Linked DNA regions of Homo sapiens: all the other regions are linked to region 3. The links are contacts of gene promoters, found by promoter capture Hi-C in human tissues and cell types (Jung and others, 2019). All regions are on one chromosome and are shown on one strand. Each heading gives the region's core, a stretch centred on a gene start or on the middle of the fragment in contact. The rest is flanking DNA. Distances are from core to core; before and after follow the strand shown. Region 1 overlaps FCHO2 (FCH and mu domain containing endocytic adaptor 2). Region 2 overlaps FCHO2 (FCH and mu domain containing endocytic adaptor 2). Region 3 holds the start of TMEM171 (transmembrane protein 171).

Region 1 (2,796 bases), core at 1-2,500, 56 kb before region 3:
TGAAAAATGAGCTTTGATTACCAAAAGTTTCTTTATAATAGAATGTCTTTATGTAAGGATTGCTACATACTAATGATTTTCTTCAAATTCTCTTTTCCCCCTCAACCAGCCAGGCCCACAACTCCTCTTTCTGTAGGCACCATTGTCCCACCTCCGAGGCCTGCTTCCAGACCAAAGCTTACTTCAGGCAAACTCAGTGGGATTAATGAAATAGTATGTACTCAGGTTTTTTAAAAATTATTTAACTGTTTTGATTTAAGATGCAAATGCTATTTTTCTATATGCCCTTTTACAGTTAATTGCTTGAAGTTTTCTACCCATGTCCTCACAGTATAGAAAAATTTTCCCAGCTAGTGCTTCCTTTACTCTTCCTTGTTACCACAGTGATCATACCTGTGAGACACGACATTGTCCAGGAGGAAAGAGATTTCCTGAGAAAGTTGGCACATTATAAAAATACCATTCAGTATCCATTGTCTCACAATAAAGAAGCGGTTTTCATATAATTCTACTTAAAGTCAAATGTTAAGGAAATAAATGGTGGCTTGTTCTTAGACCTTAAAAGTATACTGCAAGGAGGATTATGGAAGGCATCTAGCTCAGCATTTAAAATTTTACACATAAGGAAACTGGAGTCCACATCATCCAGTTGACTTATAAAAGTACATGCATGGGTGGGAAAAGCATTGGTTTTTAAAAGTCATCAGATAGAGAAAATCTATAGACTCTATGCAGTGAGGCTCTCCCAGTCTATTTGCCTTTGATCTGGTTTGTTTTGCTTCATCTTCTACACTAATTGCCAGTTTAATTACCAGAATTAAATTTCTAAGTCCAGTTTAATCTTTTTTCCCTTGATACACATTTCCAGTGGTTTCTCAGTCTGTGTGGTTGACTGTTTTAGCTGAATGTACAAGAGTCTTTATAAAGCTGCCTCAACAACCTACATTACCAGACTAACTGTCCATCTTTCTCCCCTTTTCAACCTAGGTTCCAGCCACTTGAAACTTTTCAGGGTTCCTTAAACACATCATGGTCTTTTACATGTCCATGTCTTCTTCCTGTGCTGTATCTCAAATGCCCCTCAGTTTTCTATGTCACAAATTGACTTCTTTCTTTAAGACCTAGCTAAACATCACCACCTAGGCAAAACCCTCTTTGATCATTCCTTCACTTATCTTCCTTATACCCAGATACTTTGCTTATATTTTTGTTAGTTCATATATCACCTTGTATGTACTTTTTTTGTGTGTGTTACCTTTACTGGGCTATTCCTTCGTCAGTCTCATATCCTCAGTACTTTGCATGATGCCTGTTGGGTGGTACACAGTTATGAAATCTTCAGTGAATATATTGAAAAGCTTCGGCACCAAGTATTGAAATGGTGATATCTTTCTTTTCCGAATGAACAGACTTAGTGGAAGTAAAATAAAAGACTAGGTACAAGCTGCCAAGGAGAAGGTTATTATTTAAGTAATATAGAAATTACTACATTTTAAAATACTTCATTCTCTTTTTTAAATCGTTATGACTAGAACTTTGAGTACATTCTAATAAATTGATTTTTTTTTCCTGATTGTAAAAACAGTAAATGATCGTGTTATAAAATTTGGAAAACAGAGAAAGCAGAGAAGGAAAATTATAAATTTCCTCTGTATTTCACCACCCAAAGATAACCACTGTTAACATTTTTTGGAATGCATAAGTGTTTATCCAGAGGCAGTAAAATATAGTTAAAAGTACAAGCTTATTAGCCACGTATTAGCTGAGCAACATTAAACAGTTATTTAATCAGAGTTTAGTTGCCTCATGGATAAAATATGTGTAATGATATTAGGTTGTGAGACTTAAATGAGTTAATACATGTAAAACAGAATATTGTTGAATGCAAATAGTTGCTCAAAAATTATTAATTGTATAGGCATATTTTTAAATAAAAAGTCATACTTTACATATTTCTAATTTGTTTTCTACTTGCAAATATCTTTCTATATCATGAATTATTCTTTGATTATAATTTTATTTATAGAATTAGGGGATACAAGTGCAGATTTCTTACATGTATATATTGCATACCGGCAGAATCTGGGCTTTTGGTGTACCCATTAACTGAGTAGTGAATATTGTACCCAACAGGTAATTTTTCTACCCTTACCCTTTTCCCATCCTCCCACCTTTTGTAGTCTTCACTCTCTGTTATTCCACTGTATATGTCCATGTGTAACCTTTGTTTAGCTCCCACTTATAAGTGAGAACATGAGGTATTTGACTTTCTGTTTCTGAGTTATTTCACTCAGGATAATGGCCTCCAGTTCTATCCATGTTGCTGAATGAATTATTCTTATTTCATAGTCTTCAAGCTTCTTTAAAGTGATAGAATCTTTTGCCAAATAACTTTAAATTGTAAGTATTAATATATTAAAATAAAGTGGGACTCATAGTTGAATCCTTCACATCATCCCCATATCACCATACACTACCCTCTCCCCATCCTTGAGAGCCTTCTAGAAACCACCCTCTGAGCTTCAGGGAGCACTATTTTAAGTGGCTACAGAGTATTTCAATATGAGTGCTCTGTCTTCTACACCGTTGTCAGAATTAAATTTCTAAATGTTTTCAGAAATTTATTTGACATTTAGTTCCATGTTTTTGTTATTATAAACAATGTCTTAATGACTGTCCTTATGGTTTCTTAGCATTCTTTTTTAATAAAAAATTTTAAAAGTGCAATTTATGAACTAAACTGTATGTACATTTTTAAGACTCTTGATGATTATTTCTGTATCACCCACCAGAGAG
Region 2 (2,864 bases), core at 119-2,618, 35 kb before region 3:
GCTCTCCAGCCTGGGTGACAGAGTGAGACTCTGTCTCAAAAAAAAAAAAAAAAAAAAGCCCCCTTGCCTTCTGCAGTTCTCTAAAAGAACCTTTTTCCTGTCCATTTCCCCCTATTAAAGCTAACTATCAGCAGCATTCAATTTTCTGATGATTATTTTAAGGAGAAGCAAGTTATGCTTCTCTCACTAAGTACATCTGTTTGTGTTCATAATGCCAAGGAAAAGGCTGTCCTAGCTGATCACTTCTATAACTCAACTTACAATAAGGATGTAATTCTTGGGACAGCCAAGTCTTTAACATAGTCTTATTTTCTCTTAATCAAAAGAGAATTCTTCTGCCTTCTTTTGAATGCATAATTTTAGTCTACAATAACTTTTCTGCTTGTTTTTTTAGGGTTTGGTTTTGTTTTGTTTTGTTTTGTTTTTTTGAGACAGAGCCTTGCTCTGTTGCCCACTCTGGAGTGCAGCGGCATGATCTTGGCTCACTGCAACCTCTGCCTCCCAGGTTCAAGCAATTCTCCTGCCTCAGCCTCCCGAGTAGCTGGGATTACAGGCACCTACCACCACATCCAGCTAATTTTTGTATTTTTAGTAGAGACAGGGTTTCGCCATGTTGGCCAGGCTGGTCTTGAACTCCTGACCTCAGTTGATCTGCCAGCCTCAGCCTCCCAAAGTGCTGGGATTACAGGCATGAGCCACCATGCTCAGCCTAGTCTCCAATAACTCCTCTATTTGATAGGTTTTTTGGCTTTTCAAATGTTGCTGAGCTTTTTCTTTTTGAATATTTTGAGCATAATATAAAACATATCAGTAGCTTTTCTCATAGATATTTCTGTAGAAAGGACCGTAAATATGTCTGTGTTGTTTATTCATTTACACCTGCCATGCAGAATAAGACTTTTACTGGAGAGCCATACATTGGGTGAAATAACCAAGCAAATCTTCAGTTTCTTTTTTGCTGTTTGGTACTTATAGGTTGCCCACTTTCAGCTGGCCAACTGCATTGACTTTAACCCTAGCTATTAATATATAGCTTTTTGTGAGCCAAGCTGAAATTCCTAGTTTAAATTGAAGTAAACCAGCAATCCTGTTTGCATTAAGGGCTTATAACCAGTTTAGAAGGACAAAAGGATCTTTTTCCCCAATATAATGAAACTATACTATTGTAAATAATTAACAAGAAAGAAATTTGTTCTCTCAAAAATAAGACACAGGCTGGGTGCAGTGGCTCATGCCTGTAATCCCAGCACTTTGGGAGGCCAAGGCAGGTAGATCGTGAGGTCAAGAGATCGAGACCATCCTGGCCAACATGGTGAAACCCTGTCTCTACTAAAAATACAAAAATTAGCTGGATGTAGTGGCACGTGCCTGTAGTGTCAGCTACTCGGGAGGCTGAGGCAGGAGAATTGTTTGAACACGGGAGGTGGAGGTTGCAGTGAGCCAACATCGCACCACTGCCCTCCAGCCTGGCGCAGAGACTCCGTCTCAAAAAATAAAAAAATGAGATACAAATTTTCTAACCAGATTTTAAGTTTCCCTCTGCTATTCAGGTATCAGGTGTTTCTGTGAGGAAATGGAAAAATCTTATAAATGTGGTTTTTGATGTGGTTAGTCAAGCCTTTGAAAAGAATATCCAAGGCCAGGCATGGTGGCTCATTCCTGCAATCCCAGCACTTTGGGAGGCTGAGGCAGGTGGATCACTTGAGGCCAGGAGTTGGAGACCAGCCTAGACAATGTGGCAAAACCCTGCCTCTACTAAAAATACAAAAATTAACCAAGTGTGGTGGCACGTGCCTGTAGTCCCAGTTACTCAGGAGGCTGAGGCACGAGTCTAGCTTGAACCTGGGAGGCAGAGGTTTCAGTGAGCCAAGATTGCACCACTGTATTCCAGCTTGGGCCTTAGAGGGAGACTCTGTCTCAAAAAATAAATAAATAAATAAATAAATAAATAAATAAATAAATAAATAAATAAGAATGCTGTAAAATAGGCTGGGCACGGTGGCTCACACCTGAAATCCCAGCACTTTGGGAGGCTGAGGCGGGTGGATCATGAGGTCAGGAATTCAAGACCAGCCTGGCCAATATGGTGAAACCCTGTCTCTACTAAAAATACAGAATTAGCCAGGCATGGTGGTGTGCGCCTGTAATCCCAGATACTCAGGAGGCTGAGGCAGGAGAATCGCTTGAACCCAGGAGGCGGAGGTTGCAGTGAGCCAAGATCGTGCCACTGCACTCCAGCCTAGGCAACAGAGTGAGAGACTCTGTCTCAAAAAAAAAAAACACAAAAAATTCTGTAAAATAGAAATCTGTTTTCTGTTGCTGACTGTGTACTCAGAAGAGGGACAGGAAATATTTCTAAGGTGATTGTCAAGGTTGTTGCTCTTGGTCTATGGTAGAACTTTTGCACAACCAAATTGGTTATCAAGAATTGTAAAAGTTTGAGGGCCTGGATAGTAATTAAGAATAAGGCAGCAGTTCATCTCCACTACTGATCTATGCCTCCAGGCATAATAATACAAGTTGGATCAATGTTGTGACATCCTATTCTCCATTTCTCTGTGTAGTGTTAAGCTTCTGTGCAGGGGATCACAGGATCTTACTGCTAGTACCTAGCATTTCTGTCCATTTGCTCTATCCAGAAACCTGGGAACCCTCCTAGACTCCTCCTTTCTCATTTCTTGATTCCAACTCCTAAATATCTTTCAAATAACTTTCTTAATATCTTTCCTTTTTATTAGCCCTAGTTCAGATCCCCCTTTCCTATCATCTAGAGTCCTAAACTGTTTTGACTTGCAGTTGGTCTCCCAACCTTGCATCTTGTGCTTCTCTTCCCTTTTGAGACACTAATCTGAAATGTTCTTGTC
Region 3 (2,983 bases), core at 36-2,535:
AACCCTAAAGCCCAGGTAACCCCCTCCCCTCTTTACCTCTCTGACTGGTTCTTTAAGTCTCTTCTCACCTCTGATGATTAGCTAAGCCTGCTTCATACTTTACCTTCAGTGAGCATGACCAGGAATCTCTTGTTGTATCAGGTAGGTAAAGTGCTTGCTTGCACATTGAAAAGTTTCATCCATTGGCCTTAACTCTAGATAGGGTTTCAGGCAAGGCAGACAGGAAGCTGAGAAGAGAAGGCAGGGCTGGGAAGTCCCCGTGGCTCAGGGCACCTCTGCGCTTGGGCAGAGAACCCTTGACTCACCTTCCACCGTGCCCTGACCCCTGGTGTGGAAACTAGCACAGTTGGATCCGTATCACGTGTCACGGGGCTGGTTACAAATAGCACAGGGATTGGCAAACTCATCCCGAAACTCCCGGTTCAAGGGCAGGGAAAGTTACCAGTTTAATTCCGGCAGATCATTAGTGGTGGAGAACCAGGAAGGGGGTTCTATCGCAAAGGAGGGCTGTGCGCAGACACGTGGGTGCGGGAGGGGCAGAGCTGGTCCGGCGCGGGGCTTGCCGCGTCTCGGCCTCAGTCTCGGAGCCAGGACCTCAGGCCTGAATGGCTGGGTGTGGAGGGCCCTTGTCTCACATTCTGTAGAGCGCACGTCGTCCCGTGACCTGGTGGCTCCATATTCGATGGGGAGCTCGCAGCGAGTCGCTTCCCTCTGTAACCCCACTCCAGGTCTCCAGAGCAGTAGGAGGGCCACAGGGCTGCTGGGTGTAGTCGCCCCGGACCTCGCGGTGGCCAAGGCCAAGGCGGCCGGGGCACGGTACCCTGTTCGGCCTGGGCCGCAACCACGAAGGAGGCGGTGGAGGCGGGGGCCGGCGCTTCCTCCGCGCCCCCCACGCCGCCGCTCTCTCGCGCCCCTATAGAACTGGGCCTCAGGCCTCGAGGGGGAGCGGGCCTCGGCGGGCGGGGCGCACAGTTCCGCCAGCCGGCGGGGGCATCTCAACTCGCCGGCCCCGCCAGGTGTGCGGGCCAGGCAGCCGTGGAAGGTGCCCATTTCTCCCAGATTCCTCGCGCGCACGGCCACGAGCGCGGAGGCTGCCAAACCCGCCAGCCCTGGGTTCCGAAGCCGCCCCTGGCTCTCCATTCCCTCGCGGGCGCGCCCCGGGCCCCCAGTGGCGGCCAGCTCCCACCGGTCGCTCCTGCACTGCCCTGCCCTGCCCTCCCCGGGCCGCCGCGCCCGCGCAGCACCGCCTCCTTCTCTAAATACTGCCGGGTCCGCCCTCCGCACCAGGACGCGCGGTGGGTAGGGTGCAGGGCGGCCGGCGCAGCCGAGGCCGCGTGCGGAGGCGGACGCCGCGCCCAGCCAGTGCCCACAGCAGCGCGGTCAGCCAGGCGCCGGACCCAGCTTCAGGTAAGCTGCCCCGGCCCGCGCGCCTGCGCCGGCGGCGGCGGGTCGGGCGCTGAGCTGTGCGGCCAGGCTGGGCGCGGGGAGCCGCGGCAGCGCGGAGGCGCTGGGTATCCGAGCCCAACCTGCGTCCCTGCGAGCCCCTCCGGCTGTTGCTTGCGCTCGGGCTCCCTAAAAGCCGCAAACCGATTTCGCACAGAAGGCATTTGCCTCTCGTTTCGTTCCCCAAACGCACCATAGCTTTGGACGTGGAGAGGTGCTGTGAATTTTGGAAATGTCTTTTGGAAAACCAATAGGAGTGTTGGAGAGGGGAGTTTGGCTTTGGGGAGTTTAAGTGTAGGGTGGTGTTTGGAAAAGGTTTCATTGCGAGTGAATGTGGGTGTCTTTGTATCCGTTTGTGAGTGCATCTGTGGGAGAAGGAGAGAGAGAGAGTATTTCCACACTATTATGGATCAGAGGTGAACACTCAGCCAGGTGCTCCGTCCACTAGTCCACGGACAAGAAACTACAGATTCAGTTTTGGGCTTCTATTTACTGGTGTTTGGGAATTTGCCTTAAGACAGTTGAAGCCTTGTGACTCACTGCAAAGTTGACTATACTGGGAATAAATGAATTCCTGATAGGACTTTGCAGCCGAGAATCACCCTTCTCTTTCTTGTCTCCGAAACCGCAAAAGAGATTGCATGATTCAGGAAAAAAATTAAAACAACAACAATAACAAAAAACCAATATATATAGGTTTCAGGACTCTCCATCGTTTCATTCCACTGAGAGTTTTGGAATGTACTCCCTGTAGGATAAATGAGGACTACTGTATACTCAATATGAAATTCTTATTCACTGCAGGATGTTACTGACTTAATAAAAAATGGGAAGATTAAAAAATTAGTGCAATGCTTTGTCTCAGCTTAACTGCATCTGTATATCAAGTTTTTCCAAGTTTGAAATGAAAGCTTTTTTCCCTCCTATATTTCCTTTTTTTCTCCAACTTCCTTCTGATTCTATCATACTTTTTCCTGGAAAAGTTTTTCCCAGTGTAAGATTGCCTGTTTGCTTTCTTTACCTAAACTGACCTTCCCTCAGTGTGATTTTGGTTTGTCAAGATCATCTTGGGCTTAGGGCCTCAGTCTTGAGTTCCTTCATGGGACCATGGATGTGAGCGGCACAAAATATTTTAAAAGTTTTCTTTCCTTGGGCAGGTGAAAATAGTCTTCACGATTTTGGATTGTCTTTGCAATTGCAGGACCTGACTTACGGGGTCCTGGTAAAATATCCCATTCATTGGAGTAAAATAAGATAACGAGATAATTAGGTCAGCTCTGTGTAAGCTAGACAACTCTTTAACAACCACTTGGCATATTTAATATATTATACCCCTGAAGTACAGGGCTTGGGTGATTTTCTGGAAGGTGCTTTCTCACTTGATTCCACTTATACTATTCTTTCAAAGCCAAGTTCCCCCCTTCCACCCATTTTGTGCTTTATAACTAGCAGTTTTATTGGCTGCTTGTTTTTTAACTGAGTCTCAACCTCTTTGTGGAAGTAGGTGACACCATGGAGGAGGGTGAGTGAGAGGCCACAC

The links. Contacts are between HindIII fragments. The study calls those that stand out against the background at their distance.
Region 1: a contact is called between a fragment that was not itself captured here and the fragment with the promoter of TMEM171 in region 3, in 1 of the 25 tissues and cell types used here (dorsolateral prefrontal cortex).
Region 2: a fragment that was not itself captured here is called in contact with the fragment with the promoter of TMEM171 in region 3 in 1 of the 25 tissues and cell types used here (mesenchymal stem cells).

Annotation. Positions count from the first base shown.
Region 1 is chr5:73,063,732-73,066,527 of GRCh38, forward strand. FCHO2 (FCH and mu domain containing endocytic adaptor 2) reads left to right here. Exons shown (of 26, transcript NM_138782.3): 18 at 110-213. Among named protein-coding and RNA genes, the nearest start is that of TMEM171, 55 kb to the right of the region's middle. The HindIII fragment of the contact is 3,441 bases long and covers 1-2,796 here.
Region 2 is chr5:73,083,856-73,086,719 of GRCh38, forward strand. The region is part of intron 24 of FCHO2 (FCH and mu domain containing endocytic adaptor 2); the gene reads left to right. Among named protein-coding and RNA genes, the nearest start is that of TMEM171, 35 kb to the right of the region's middle. The HindIII fragment of the contact is 4,705 bases long and covers 1-2,864 here.
Region 3 is chr5:73,119,290-73,122,272 of GRCh38, forward strand. TMEM171 (transmembrane protein 171) reads left to right here and starts at 1,286. Exons shown (of 4, transcript NM_173490.8): 1 at 1,286-1,407. LOC124901001 reads right to left here and starts at 1,202. Exons shown (of 2, transcript XM_047417978.1): 1 at 1-1,202. The coding sequence starts at 1,140. The coding sequence ends at 439. RefSeq lists an enhancer at 125-676. The HindIII fragment of the contact is 7,583 bases long and covers 1-2,983 here.